5 separate regions of the Homo sapiens genome follow, and all the other regions are linked to region 1. The links are contacts of gene promoters, found by promoter capture Hi-C in blood cells and fetal thymus (Javierre and others, 2016). All regions are on one chromosome and are shown on one strand. The core of a region is centred on a gene start or on the middle of the fragment in contact, and the rest is flanking DNA. Distances in the headings are between cores, read along the strand shown. Region 1 holds the start of DIS3 (DIS3 exosome endoribonuclease and 3''-5'' exoribonuclease). Region 2 overlaps KLF12 (KLF transcription factor 12). Region 3 overlaps KLF12 (KLF transcription factor 12). Region 4 overlaps KLF12 (KLF transcription factor 12). Region 5 has its middle 21 kb from the start of LINC00393.

What was found. Contacts are between HindIII fragments. The CHiCAGO score rates a contact against its expected background, and 5 or more counts as called.
Region 2: a fragment that was not itself captured here is called in contact with the fragment with the promoter of DIS3 in region 1 in 3 of 17 cell types (total CD8 T cells, total B cells and activated CD4 T cells); the score reaches 6.3 in total CD8 T cells.
Region 3: a fragment that was not itself captured here is called in contact with the fragment with the promoter of DIS3 in region 1 in 1 of 17 cell types (total CD4 T cells); the score reaches 5.4 in total CD4 T cells.
Region 4: a contact is called between a fragment that was not itself captured here and the fragment with the promoter of DIS3 in region 1, in 4 of 17 cell types (fetal thymus, naive CD4 T cells, total CD8 T cells and 1 more). The highest score is 9.3, in fetal thymus.
Region 5: a contact is called between a fragment that was not itself captured here and the fragment with the promoter of DIS3 in region 1, in 1 of 17 cell types (endothelial precursors). The highest score is 5.4, in endothelial precursors.

What each region holds. Positions count from the first base shown.
Region 1 is chr13:72,780,614-72,783,244 of GRCh38, forward strand. It overlaps DIS3 (DIS3 exosome endoribonuclease and 3''-5'' exoribonuclease), which reads right to left and starts at 1,287. Exons shown (of 21, transcript NM_014953.5): 1 at 992-1,287; 2 at 233-390. The coding sequence starts at 1,219. It overlaps PIBF1 (progesterone immunomodulatory binding factor 1), which reads left to right and starts at 1,520. Exons shown (of 18, transcript NM_006346.4): 1 at 1,520-1,736. RefSeq lists enhancers at 479-1,393, 1,311-1,420 and a silencer at 981-1,030. The HindIII fragment of the contact is 4,441 bases long and covers 854-2,631 here.
Region 2 is chr13:73,763,075-73,765,705 of GRCh38, forward strand. KLF12 (KLF transcription factor 12) reads right to left here. Exons shown (of 8, transcript NM_001400136.1): 6 at 1,864-1,926. Among named protein-coding and RNA genes, the nearest start is that of LINC00393, 100 kb to the left of the region's middle. The HindIII fragment of the contact is 2,540 bases long and covers 19-2,558 here.
Region 3 is chr13:73,743,382-73,746,012 of GRCh38, forward strand. All of the region lies in intron 6 of KLF12 (KLF transcription factor 12), which reads right to left. Among named protein-coding and RNA genes, the nearest start is that of LINC00393, 83 kb to the left of the region's middle. The HindIII fragment of the contact is 6,584 bases long and covers 1-2,631 here.
Region 4 is chr13:73,720,811-73,723,441 of GRCh38, forward strand. All of the region lies in intron 6 of KLF12 (KLF transcription factor 12), which reads right to left. Among named protein-coding and RNA genes, the nearest start is that of LINC00393, 60 kb to the left of the region's middle. The HindIII fragment of the contact is 1,923 bases long and covers 290-2,212 here.
Region 5 is chr13:73,681,779-73,684,409 of GRCh38, forward strand. No RefSeq gene overlaps it. Among named protein-coding and RNA genes, the nearest start is that of LINC00393, 21 kb to the left of the region's middle. The HindIII fragment of the contact is 386 bases long and covers 1,146-1,531 here.

The DNA.
Region 1 (2,631 bases), core at 37-2,536:
TATTGTAGTCTAGGAGTCAGCAGACCTTGGTTTTAGGCTTGAGCCCATCAATGCCTGTGTGACCTTAGAGAGATCCACTTAGCATTATCTTCTGCACAGCCATGTAAGAATTAAATAAGGTATGAAATCTATCACTTATCTTCTGACAATGTCATAAATTACTCACAGGAACCCTCTCCCGAATTTTGCTAATCCTGTGGTTTTCTGATATTTAACGTAATATTCCTCCTACCTATGGTGCTCATTAGTGAAAGTATAGAAATGCTTCTCTTGGTTATTAGTCACATCTCGGATGCGTTTATATACGGGGGCACTGCGATTTCTCACTTCTTGAAGAACTGTTTGTAGCACAATTACATTCCTGATGGCAGGGTCCTCAAGAACATCAATCTTAAAGAAAGATAAAGTTAATTTTTCCTATATTCATTTGTAAATAGCTCTGTCAAACATAAAATCCTGTTTTATGTTGGGCATAAATACTTTATGTTTTAAAAACACTGAATAAGTTAAGCCAAGAAGCTATTTGGCTATAGAAAACGAGACAATAGTCACTAAACCCTTCAGATCTATTAAAAAAAGCACACTTAAACAGACCAATCACAAGACTTCGTAGAATTAAGGGTATTAATAAAGGAATACGTTGGCCCACATAGTTTTTTGTTCCTAGGCACTTACAAGCTGCCTGGGAGTCGCAGGCTGGAGGCCACAGAAGCCCAGGTCCCCGGCCTCCAGGCACTTACAATCTAAGGCAGAAGAGACACCAGGAGTTAGAAAAATAACGTGTCTGAACTACGACTCCAAGAACTAAATTTTTTAAAGCACAAGGAAAAGAACCTCGGCCTGGGGAACAGGAAGCTTCGGTCCCGAGGGGGTTTCCCTTTCGCTAGGTATGTGACACTGCCAAAGACCCGCCTCCCTGGGCCTCAGTTTCCCTGTCATACCCCCTTGTCCCCGTGGGGCCGCGCTGTCCGCGGTTCGCCCGCCCACGCACCTGGTGCAGTAACACATTAGTGTCGGGCAGCAAGTAGTGCGGTTGCGGGCAGACGCTGCTCGCCGGGTCCTGGGGCTGCGGCTCCAGGGCCGGCCCCTCGTGCGCCCCTCCACACGCTGCGCACCCGGGCGCACCGCAGCCGATGTCGTCTCGCAGGTAGTGCTCGCGCACGATCTTCATCACGCCGCCCGCCCGGGTCTTTTTTAAGAACGTCTTGGACTTGAGCATCTTGCCTCGCCGCGCAGAATCCTAACCCCAGCAGCGCTCTTCCAGCAAAAGGCGTCAATCTAGAATACGCCTAACCCCGGAGGTTCTTCCCTTTCCATTCCCGGATATTAGTAACACTTCTCGCGGGAAAATGCCGAGATAAACATTGGTTGGCTCTCTGACGGCCGCGGGGATTGGGCGAGAGTGGGGAGGGGCGGCAAAGCAAGGCGAGGAGCCATTTCCGCCCGTGGCCTAGGCGGGGCTTCCTTCTGGACGCCACCTCACAACGTGTGTTGCTTTCCGCTCCTCGGAACATCCGGGAGAGTTGACTTCCGGCGGCTTGTGGGAGTGCTGGTTCTGTCCTCCTTGCGGGTGCGGAGATGGTTGTCTTGGTTACGGGTCCTAACGGTCCCCTGCCTTGAAATCCCTTGTTGAGGGCCTGCAACCTTGTGCTTCCGACCGGAGACGCCTTTGGTCCCTCGGTGTCTGCACTGGCTGCTGGTCAAGGCTTCAGTGTGGAGTAATTGACACTTTCGAGGTAACTTGCGACTATCATCGCTTTCTTTCCCGCGTGGGGCAAGGAATCCCCCGAGCTGCCAAGTTTGGGGCTTAATTTTCACGCCGAGTGTATAGGCAGTCCCCGTCTCGGGCCCTTTGTAATCGAGGAGAGAATTTGTCTTTGAATTCACTTTTTCTTACCTATTTCCCTTCAAAAAGAAGGAGGGAGGCCGATCTTAGTATAGTTCTCGCTGTTTCCCCTCCACACACCTTTCCTTATCATTCAGTTTAGAAAAACTGAAATATTTAATAGCATAATTTGTTATATCATGAGGTATTAAAACAAGGTAGTTGCTAACATTCTTATGAGAGAGTTAGAAGTAAGTTCTATTTAGAATTTCTTGAATTTTTCTTATATCCTGTTGTTTTCATTCTGCTATCTATAAAAAATGTTTTTGTCCCCGTTTTCCCTATTTAAAACATCTTCAATGATGCCTCATTGCCTGTAGAATAAAATCCAACCCTATTTTGACATTTAAGGCCTTCCAGTCTTGATCGTTAAGGGCGTGTGTGTGTGTGTGTGTGTGTGTGTGTGTGTTTGTGTTTGTGTTGGGGGGGCGGTGAAAGGAGTAACTATTCCAAGACTTGGCTTTGTTTTTTTACTTCCACTTACGTATCATTAATAACTGCATGATTTCTCCTTTTTACCATGCCTGTCCAAATCTTTAAAGATTCTAAGTGCTACCTCTGTGTAACGTTTCCCTGACCAACTCAGACGTGATTTCTGTTATCTTTGAGCATGTGTTGGTTTTAGTGGTGCCATTCTTGATTATAATGGGCTTTTTTCTTCATCTTGTACATTTCTTTGTTTCCTCCAAGTAAGATTCCTCCCCGCAGGAACTGTTTTTTTAAGTTTCTCGAAGGCTGACTTCATA
Region 2 (2,631 bases), core at 39-2,538, 980 kb after region 1:
TCTAGGTCTTTGCTCAAAAGCTTTCTTCTTTGGGATGGATTTTCTGACAGCCTTGTTCCTTCCTTTATATTCCACCCCCTCCCAAGTATGAACTCTCAAATTAGTCTTAAATAAAGCTGCTAACTTCTCCTTCTAAACATTATATTATAAATATATCTCCTTAGAGCTTTACCCACATTGTATATTATGTGCTTGTGTGATATCGTATATGTGCCTGTGTATGTGACATCACACACACATACACATACACATCTGCCCTGCAAGACAGGTAGGCCCTTGAGGATAGAAACCATGTTTTATTTATCTTTCTAATCTAGTGCTTCTTACAGTGCCTGGGACTGTAAATAAATGTTGCTGAATAAATAAAAGTTGAATTTTCTCAAGGCCAGTAGTAAACATCACTTTTGTTTTCCATGGATTACTTCTCTGGAGATACAAGAGGTTTACACTTACTAAACAAATAACATGCTATGAATTATGCAGGAACATCATTACTTCAATACTTCAGAGAGGAAAAGTCAAGAAAAGAAACTCTGTTATTTACTCCATGTTTTACATTTAGCCATTGAGAACCAAGTTATGGAAACTGGATCTCATACCTGACAACTCTGTACTCTACCCATTAGCTTGTGGCGTGTGATAAGTCAAGAACAGACCTGATTTGTCCCTTTCCTTTCACATAATGATCATCATATTATTACTCCCTTAGCTTTTCAGGCCGGACAGGGGATAACATGCTTTAGCAATGGTAAGAGACGAGGAAGGATGCCCCGGCTCTGAGGCAAGGTGTAAGCAAACGCCTCTGTGCCCCATTTCCCCCTCTGTGAAAAAGAAAAGCACAATATTTAACAACATCGCCAAGCTATTGTGAGAATTAATTAGATTTCGTGGGGGAAGGGAGGTGAGATGATTAGGCATGATTCAAATTCAAAGTGTCATTATTTTGTGTCTAAAAATAATCTTGATTTAGGAATAAAATTAATTTGGAAGCTCAATCTTTGGTGATCATCTTCCCATACTTAAAAAAAGGCATAGTTTTAATCAAAATCTCATTCTAACTATAATTCAATGAAGTAAAAATGGAATTTCCATTCATCTTTGAAGTAATACAGCCACAGTTCATTTTTTTCTTTTTAGTTTTTCTTTTTTTTCCTTAATAACACATTATGTGTTAAAAGGTTAACTTTGTGGAATGGAGTAATATAAACAAATACAGATATTGAGCCCACTTTTTTTGTTGTTTCGCATGAAATATTTGTGAAACACTTTAAATCGCTTCTCTAAAGAATCGATAAGCTATGTTTTCTGGTTGAAATAACTTTTCAGGTTGTTTCTGCAAAATTCCATCTATATTTTTGTTCAAGAACTCATCAGTTAAAGAAGATCTTAGTACTCCCCAAATTAAAAAAAAAAAAAATCCTGGATATTTAAGGCTATGGCAAGGAAAAAAAAAATCACTGAGTTCGTTGTAATCCCCAAAACTAATGTAACAGATTCATTAACTGTGGAAATCTTCATGAGGAGTTGAAGTTGGTATCTGAGAAATATCTGGGTCTATGTACCTTCGAAAAAAAGGAAAACATTCTTTAAAATAGGTAAGAGTTTATAATCTTGGGAACTTAGATCATATCTGTCAAAAAAAAAAGTTACACTCAGGGTTTTTGGTGAATGAAGAGTTTGGGCTGGAAAGGAACTCTATCAATATTTATTTCGAACTGTCCAGAGGAAAGGAAGACCGCATAGTCCAGTTAGCAGGTATGTACTCTGTATAGAGAAGTAGGACTAATTCTCTTAATTTTAACATAAGCCCTATTAAAGTTTCCCGTAAGACCTACAAATACTCATATTAGACTGTATACTCACCAAGGAAACTTTTGATTATTCATTCGATTGCCCCGGACCCTTGATACTGGGGACGGATGTACCCTGTAGACAGAGAAGAATAATCCAGTCATTGAAAAAGCATATTCCCAATTGCAAATTTAAAAAAATGGCATGTTTTATAAATAATTTCTTTTAGAATTGCTTAATACAAAATCCCCAGAACTTGAACCCCTCTTAGTAAATGATGCAATTAAATTCCTACGCCTGCAAATCTGTGGTCCTTTTTTCCTTCTTAACCACTCTCAAGACAACAGGTCTGTCATAATGTTCACTCTGAAGACTCCCAGAGGCAGGACTGATGCATTCATTCAGTCCAACAAAAGTGACTGAATACCTAACCCTTGCCAGGTACAAGGGTGGGTAAAAGTTATCTAAGGTATGGTGCCTGAGTTCAGTGAGCCCTCTTTGTACCTGTTCCCATGAGGGTGGGCACAAAGAGGTGTCTAAGTGCCCTCTCCTTCACTCTACCACATTTAAAACTCTAGGAAGCAAACAACGTTATTCAAATGTGCTGTGACAGAATCTGCAGGCACAGGGAAGGAAGGAAGGGTGAACAGGTACTCCTAGGAGGAGTACATTCTGGAAGTGATGTGCTACACTGGACTTTGAAGAAAGTAAAGTCAATTCAAAATTTTAGCCAGATAAAGGAGAAGTGAAGAATATATTGCTTTCCAAGCTTCCAGGATTGGACTTATCCACTGGAAACAGCTTAAAGCTTCCGGGAACTGCTGTTATCTTCTAATCAAA
Region 3 (2,631 bases), core at 35-2,534, 960 kb after region 1:
GATCAACTCTTCTTGTATAGAGAGTCTAAAATTCTGCTGTCTGATCAGTGCTATCTTATATAAAATAACTATTGATCTGAGATCCTGAAAGCACCGTAGAATATGGCTTTGCCTTAAGACTTACTATACAATTACATAACAAGTTGAATGTACTAGAAATTAAGGCAGGGTTGGGGGAGTACTAGAAAAAAACGTTCTCCCATTCATTAAAGTTACAAGGAAACTTCTTTCAAAATGGCTCCTAGAAAACCTCTGAAAAGATATAGCATGCATATTACATTATATGTGTGGGTTTATGTGTATTTATGTAGAGTTGGAAAAAGCTGATCCAAGAAGTAGATTTTAACTCCGCTTTGGTATCAGCATGCTTCAGAACTATTTCAGAATAATCACCTTATTTTTAAAAGTTCTGCTCATCAGTGAGAAGAACCAAAGTTGTGGTTTCTAAGAAAGTTACGCTTCCAGGAAAGAGAGAAAAATAAAATGACTAAGAAGTACATGGAGGGCTCTTATCATTTACTAATTCCTTGAGGCAGGATTCTATTTCAAGCAGTCCAGGTAGAAGAAACTAATGTATACCTTTAAAAAAGTTTTGAGAAGTACTTGCAAGAACTTTAGTGACCTCTCCTATTTATTTGGAAACTCTTCTTATGTAAGAAAAGTTCTACATCTACAAATATTTTTCCATACCTCAAACAGACCCAAATGCCAAGACCTATGGCATCTTTGAACTAAAGTTAAATACCGCTGTTAAGTCTGCTTTCAAATTCTCCATCTACAAATAAGAATTCAAGTCTGACTTTGGGTAGCATGGATTGGATTAGGAGATTCACTGCTAAATTTGGAATGTGAAGATCTAGATGTGCCAGGGCTGTTGCAAAGTGGCTTTGTTCCATAGGACAAATAACTGAATTTCTATTTTGGAACTTCAATTTCATCACTGACAAAATGGGGTCAATACTACCTATTGTGAATGTCGCAAGGGTTGGTTGTGAATTTCTCATGAGGGCATGGATGAAAGGGCGTTTTGAAAGGGTGAGTGTAGGTCTCCTGCAGGAGGGGTCTTTTCAAGATAGGCCTTTATAAACCCTTTAGGCACGCTGGTGGTAGGAGCAAAAAGCAGGTGACTGGGGCCTGTGTGATGGACATCCTGGAGCCTGGGTCAGCTACCCAGGGGGTGGTCTAGTAATGGGGGGTTGTGGGGGGTGGCAGCAACAGCAAATGAAGCCAGAAAAAGCAACACAGGAGGAACTGCTATAGAGCCCCAGGGCTTCAGGAGCAGGTAGGTAGACACTGAGGAGCAACGCAGGGAAGGAAAGCCTGCTGCCTAGGATGAGCATGACAAAACGATGCTCAGCACTTGCCAAACCTGCATCAGGACATGAAAAAATAAAACTGCAAGGTGACGTATGCATGTCTACGCATAGGTGAGCATACGCATGTCTCTACATTATTAGGGTTCATTAATTTCTGATGGTGGCTAGTTGAGTTTACCTTTGATGAAGGCTAGTGTGTCAGAAAAGAACTCAACATTCATGCATCCTGGTGTTAAATTCTGAGGCCATGGTTGCACTTTCTAGTTCTACAGAGCCTTCTAGTGTTAGCCAGCTGCACTCTTTAGACCAAGGCCTGCTAATGTAATCAGTCACTTTTATGAGTACCTAAAATTATAGCTGCTAGGTACCCATTAAAATAACTTATTTATTCATTTATTGTTTATAAGAATTTGTGGTTAATGCATCCGTATTCATTGTTTAAGCCGTGGTTCATTACCACACATAACTGCAGGATGGGGTTCTGTTTTGCACATGTGCTCTTTGACCACCTGGGGACATAAGAGAACACATATTACAAATGCACATACATTTAAAGCATATGTTTTAGGTAGGAAAGAGGGGACGCTACTCTTATCCAATTGCAACTAAAATCATGACGTTGTGAAAGAGCTCACTATGAATGGAGTTGTGTCAGTAGCTCAGAAGTAGGCTCTGGTTTTCCTCCTCCAGTGTATTAAATCATTTGACATTTAGGTCACCTAGGATGAGGACTGAAGGGCATGCTCTAACCAGTACAATTGTAACCATACATATTTATAAATATTAAAGGTAATTATTATCCTTAAAATATATCTAACAAATGTCAACCCAGATTGTGACAAGGACTGAATTTATATTTTGTAAAAGTATCACATGTGATAATTACTGTTTTTCACACACCAGGTCAAAATACTAAGTGTAAAAAGAAAAAGAAAATGCTCCTTTGTTAACACTTGTCATTGTTCTGCACGTATGTAATTTCTAGAATCAGAGGCCTCCAAATCTATTAATAATCACAAATTTGCAAAAGCTATGCATTATTTCAGATAACACCAAGCAAAAATAGCACCAAGATTCTAATTTCACTTAATGATATTTTCAAGATACCCACCAGTTTGAAAGCATGCAAGTCAAGGGTATACCACTAAATAACTGAATCAGTAACTGTGGAAAAAGTTAAATGACGTATCATTTTTACATTTCAAGGATCGTAATGTCCTGCAAAATACGTAGTACACACCATCTGCATCGGGCAAAACGCTGTCAGATGCTTTCAAAATAGGTCTCTGGACCCAGAGAGAAATCAGCATTCTAA
Region 4 (2,631 bases), core at 1-2,500, 940 kb after region 1:
AAAAGACCACTCGTCATGTGTGACCTTAGCATGATGAGATGTCCTTCACTGAAACTGGAGTTTTTACAGGAGTTAAAAAAAAATTAAAAAGGCCAGGACAATCTTTCAAGCCTGGAAAGAAGACATACACATCCCAGATTTAAAAACCAGAGCAGAAAACACTGGAATTGAAGGAGCTTTAGTAAATTCACACACGCAATCACAACAGAATTCCAAGGGCCACAGCTGAGGATAACAATGATATTTACAGAATGCTTAGTGGGTGTCAGGCACCGACCTAAATGCCTTAAGCTTCAGAGCAACCCTCTGAGATTGACACTACTATCCCTGTACACTGTATCCCTCTTTTACAGATGAGGAAACTGAGGCACAGAGAGGTTAAGGCCAAGGCCAAGACAAAGTCTGCGGCTACACTAAAACTCAGACCTGAGTGGTTGATTCCAGAACTCAATTTTAATTACAATGTTATGCTTATTCAGATGAAGATACAGGTATTACAAACCAACATATGATAGAAGGGGAAAAAGCAACAAAATATCTATAGCATTTAAATTTCCCCTTTAACCCAATTATATAAAACAACAGCACACATAAGTGTTATTGAATATAGCCTGCAACGATAAGACATATACTTTTCTCTGGAGAATTTTAAAAAGGTAAACCGTTCTGTAAGTACTGTCAGATGGGCATTCAGTACACTTACTATTAATCTACCAAAGAAAGTATTTTCTTTTCTCTCCTTTCATCTTGTTTTTAAAAAGAGACAAGAACTCATTCTGTTGCCCAAGCTGCAGTGCAGTGGTAGAATCATAGCTCACCGGAGCCTCAAACTCCTGGACTCAAACAATCCTTCCGCCTCAGCCTCCTGGGAACTAGGACTACAGGTGCATGCCACCATGCCTAGTTAATTTTTTTTTTTTTTGGTAGAGAAAGGGTCTTGCTGTGTTGTCCTAGCCTGTCTTGAACTCCTGGCCTCAAGTGATCCTCCCACTTCGGCGTCCCAGTGTTGGGATTATAGGTATGAGACACTATGCCTACCCAGTACATATTTTCTTAAAGTTGTTATAAACTATGTATTTCCAAGGGAAATGTTTTTTAAAGGCTGAGTTTGGCAGTGGTATATGCTAATGTCTTCCTTGACCATTAATGCCACAAAATTAGTCCCTTCCCTGACATTCCACTTTATTTACAATTGTACCAAAAAGAATTGAGTTGGTTGCACGATAGAATTACCTTAAGGGAAGTGGGAGCATTCAGTTTACAAAGTATATTTTGTACTGTTTCTAAGGTTTCATATTATTTAAAATAAGACATTGAACATCACCTACAGAATTCTGAATTAACTTCTGCCACAGAATACCTGTAGGTAGAATGACTTCTTTGTTAGTGAATCAAACACCACCCTGGGAATGAATCATCAAGACCACAAGCAGAGCAAGAGTGGATGAGACTTTCAGTTAATCAGGATTTACATAAATCTCAGTAAGACAGATTCTATTCACATGAACAAGCCAGATATCTGCATTTCTTTGTAGGCTTTCCCTTAACCAGCAGATGGCTCTCAGAGGCAGGAATCTTCATATTTATCTTCCATACTACAACAGACTCTAGTGCCTGTCAAACCATGTCAATGTCTCTCCTATGATATTAATTAGGGAAAAAGCAGTGTTTAGATACATTTACTACCAAATCCCCAGCAGCTACATTCGGAGGTGGAGCAGATTCACAGGCATCAAGTTCCTCTCTCACTCCTGTCTGTAGCATTTCACAGAAAACTACTTTTGAACAGATTGAAATTGTAAGATTAGTAGTTGCCACCCTTTTCAGAAGCTGTGACTGAGACATTATATCATGTTCTAATTTGGATTCAATAAAAACGTTTTCACAAAATGTATAAATCAAGAGAAATACGTTTGCTAAAATGCGTCAAAAAGCTCAATCTTAACATCTATTCAAACTAGCGTTTGGCAAGTTTTCCATATGAACAGAATGCGTCTAAAATGCATATTTAATTATTGTTTTACTTTAATAAACAAAGTTTCCTACTAAACTAATTAAAAGATAATGGTTTACAAATGAGCCTTTTGGGCGCCCAAGGGGTGCCCTGGGGATGGATTCACAGTATTTCATGATTTTACTTAAATATAACAGCAGCCACTAAGTATTTTTCCACATCACTTTCTAGACCGTTAAAAAACTTAAAAGTATGACAAGCTTTCTGTTCTTTTTGTTTCAACATATTTCAGCAAGCAAGATCATAAGCTGTATTAGGCAAAATGTTTAAAGAGAATCAAAATAGAAAAAAACGAATCATTAACAGTCTGTTCTGGTTGGCTATATTATCAAACTTTTATGATGAAATTAGACTACAAGTTGAAAGAGGATTGTTGGCTAACAAAAAAATGCCTATTTCAGATATAGAGTATCTATTCAAAATAGCTACTCTGTGGGGAATGTCCTATGCATTGCGAAGACTTTATCCCATGAGATCAATTAATAATGTAGGATGAAACGAGGGTTCTGAAACAGGTATGGATTTCTGGATTATACTAGACATACCCACTGAATGGAAGACACATAACATACTTAAATATTTAGAGGGATTTTCCCACAGAATTTCTTCAGAAAATA
Region 5 (2,631 bases), core at 89-2,588, 900 kb after region 1:
AACCAACAGAGTATATGTTTACACTTACATACCGAGAGATTATTGGCTCCATGTGGCTGTGGAAGCTTGTCAAGTCCAAAATCGGATGGGGTAGGCTGACAGGCTGGAGACTCAGGGAAGAGTTGCAAGTTCAAGTCCAAGGGCAGTCTGCTGACAGAATTCCTTGTTGCCCAAGGGAGGTCAGTCTTTGTTCTGATAAGGCCTTCACCTGATTGGATGAGGCCCACCCACATTATGGGGGGTCATCTGCTTTATTCAAAGTTCACCTATTTAAATGTTAATCTCATTCAAAAAACACCTTTACAGAAACATCCAGAATAATGTCCAACCAAATATCTTGGCACTGTGGCCCAGTCAATATGACACATACAATTAACCATTTCAATAGAGGTTCTGCTCAATGTGAGATGGAGCACACCTGGACTTGCCTTGGGAGCAGGTGGGCAGGAGGAGAGGAGAGAGACCACCCCACCGGAGGCTTTCAAAGTTTATTTTTTACATTGCGCCCTGTCACATGCATGCTAACGGACAATGAACTGAAACAAAAGCTCTTCTTCATCTTCGCTTCCTTCCTGCTTCATTCCATTCTATTTCATCCCATCTTATACCATCTCATTCCTTTCTTTAATTTTTGAAAATGCTCACTTTCATCCACTACATGGATTTCATTGCCATGAATGGGTCACAAAACTGCAGTTTGCAAACTGAATATACAACTTACATGTGTGTTGGCACATGTGCAAATCAAAGAAGAGGCTGACAGGATGGACAACAGAGATAGCACACGTCACAACTTGAAATGATCCATAAACCAAGAGAATGAGGTGATTGTGATCAGGCAGACACCTCTGCCTCTCTTTCTCCAGTGTTGCACACACACTCAAAATTCACAGAAATCTTCCAGAGGGCATGTTATTAGGGATCTGAATATCTACATACAATGTGTATTTCAGGGGACACAGGGGCTGACTGATTACCTGTGTTACTGAGCTATTCTCTCTACCCTTAAAATTCCATCACGTTTTAGCCAGTTCTGGTGGTGCTTATCCATTTACAGTTCATACTAGAGAAATTGTGTATGTATCTATCTACGCTAATCGGATACAATAACTTACTTTAGGTGAGGGACTATGTCTTAAGTACAAAGCTTTATGCCACACATCAATTAGCATAATCTTTTTACAGAGTAATAAGTCAAACATGTGCTTTTCCTTATTTTATGCACATAAAAATTGCTATCAGTAACCATAAGAACATAGATTTACGAGTGGTTGAATAGAATATAGACTTTATGTAATTTCTTAACCATTTCCTCCATGTTTTAGATATATCAAATATAATTTGAATGCTCACTTGGATAATGCATAATATTGATACATATAATACAAAAGGGTCAATATCAGTGCTCAAATGACTGTATTCATTTATGCTGAACAAATTACAAAGAAATGGCTCCAAATCAGCCAGGAAAGGTGAAGTAGTGTACACAGGCCCTAATTCAGCAACAGAATGCATTGGCCACACTGACATAAGCTTTCAGGACCCTGGGGATGATCAATAACGTTTAACCCTCCAGGGCCACGTCTACCTCATGACCTGGCCATGGCCAAGTTTAAGAGGGCATAGCAGCCAGAGGCAGCGGCAAGGCCACCCTTGAGATGTTGGAACCAACTTGGGTCTTTGGTATAGACTGAAAGCTCTGAGGGACCAGGGTATAACAGTAGCTCATGACACAGACCTTCTGTGCTTTGCAATCCTCTTCAAGATAATGGATTACAATCTGTGCAATACAATACTTACTGCAGCTACAATAAGAGAAAAGGGGGCTATTCTGATGACTATATGCCTATTTAAACAATTCTGGGGCTCTCCTGAGTAAATGTTTTTTAGCACATATTGCTGATGTCATCATGGCCTCATAAAACTGGGTTTCTCTCTCATACACATACACACACACAAGCACACTCTTAACATGGTGAAACTATAAAAGAAAAAAGATCATGTAAAAGTTGTTCCTGTACAAGGAAAATGTAATTTATTTCAGAAATAGACAATCACTCAAGTGTATGAGCTGTGTAGGCGTTCATTGGTGAATTTAGACTAAACAGGAAGTGATGTAAATTATAGTTATTACACTGCTGGGAGAGAAATATATTAAATCCAGACAGCACACGAACAAAGCACAAGGAGCTCATTGTGTTGAAGGAAACCACGCACTTTGGTGGGAAGACAATGCACTATATAGTATGAAAACCCTCCATGGCCATTGGGACTAAAATAATTTTTTAGGGAGCATGATTTTGTTCTAGCACTGAAATATTTTTTTCTTTTCTGATAAAGCCCCAAGGCATTCTAAGCTGAAGTACATTGCTGCTCCTGTACTTTTAACTATTTCGTGTGGTTTTTTTGTAGACTTCAAATTGGGGAGAATAAGAAACAATGAAACCATTAGGTTAGAAATCATGGCTATGGCAAAACGGCTAGAGTAAAGGTAAAACATGAGATAATGAATTATCTATCACCTGTGTAATTCCAGCTATCATTGAAGTATCCAAGAATCACCCTGGTAGAGGAAATATCAACGAATAAATTACCCTGAGGGAAAAATAACATCATGTGATCTAGTCCATG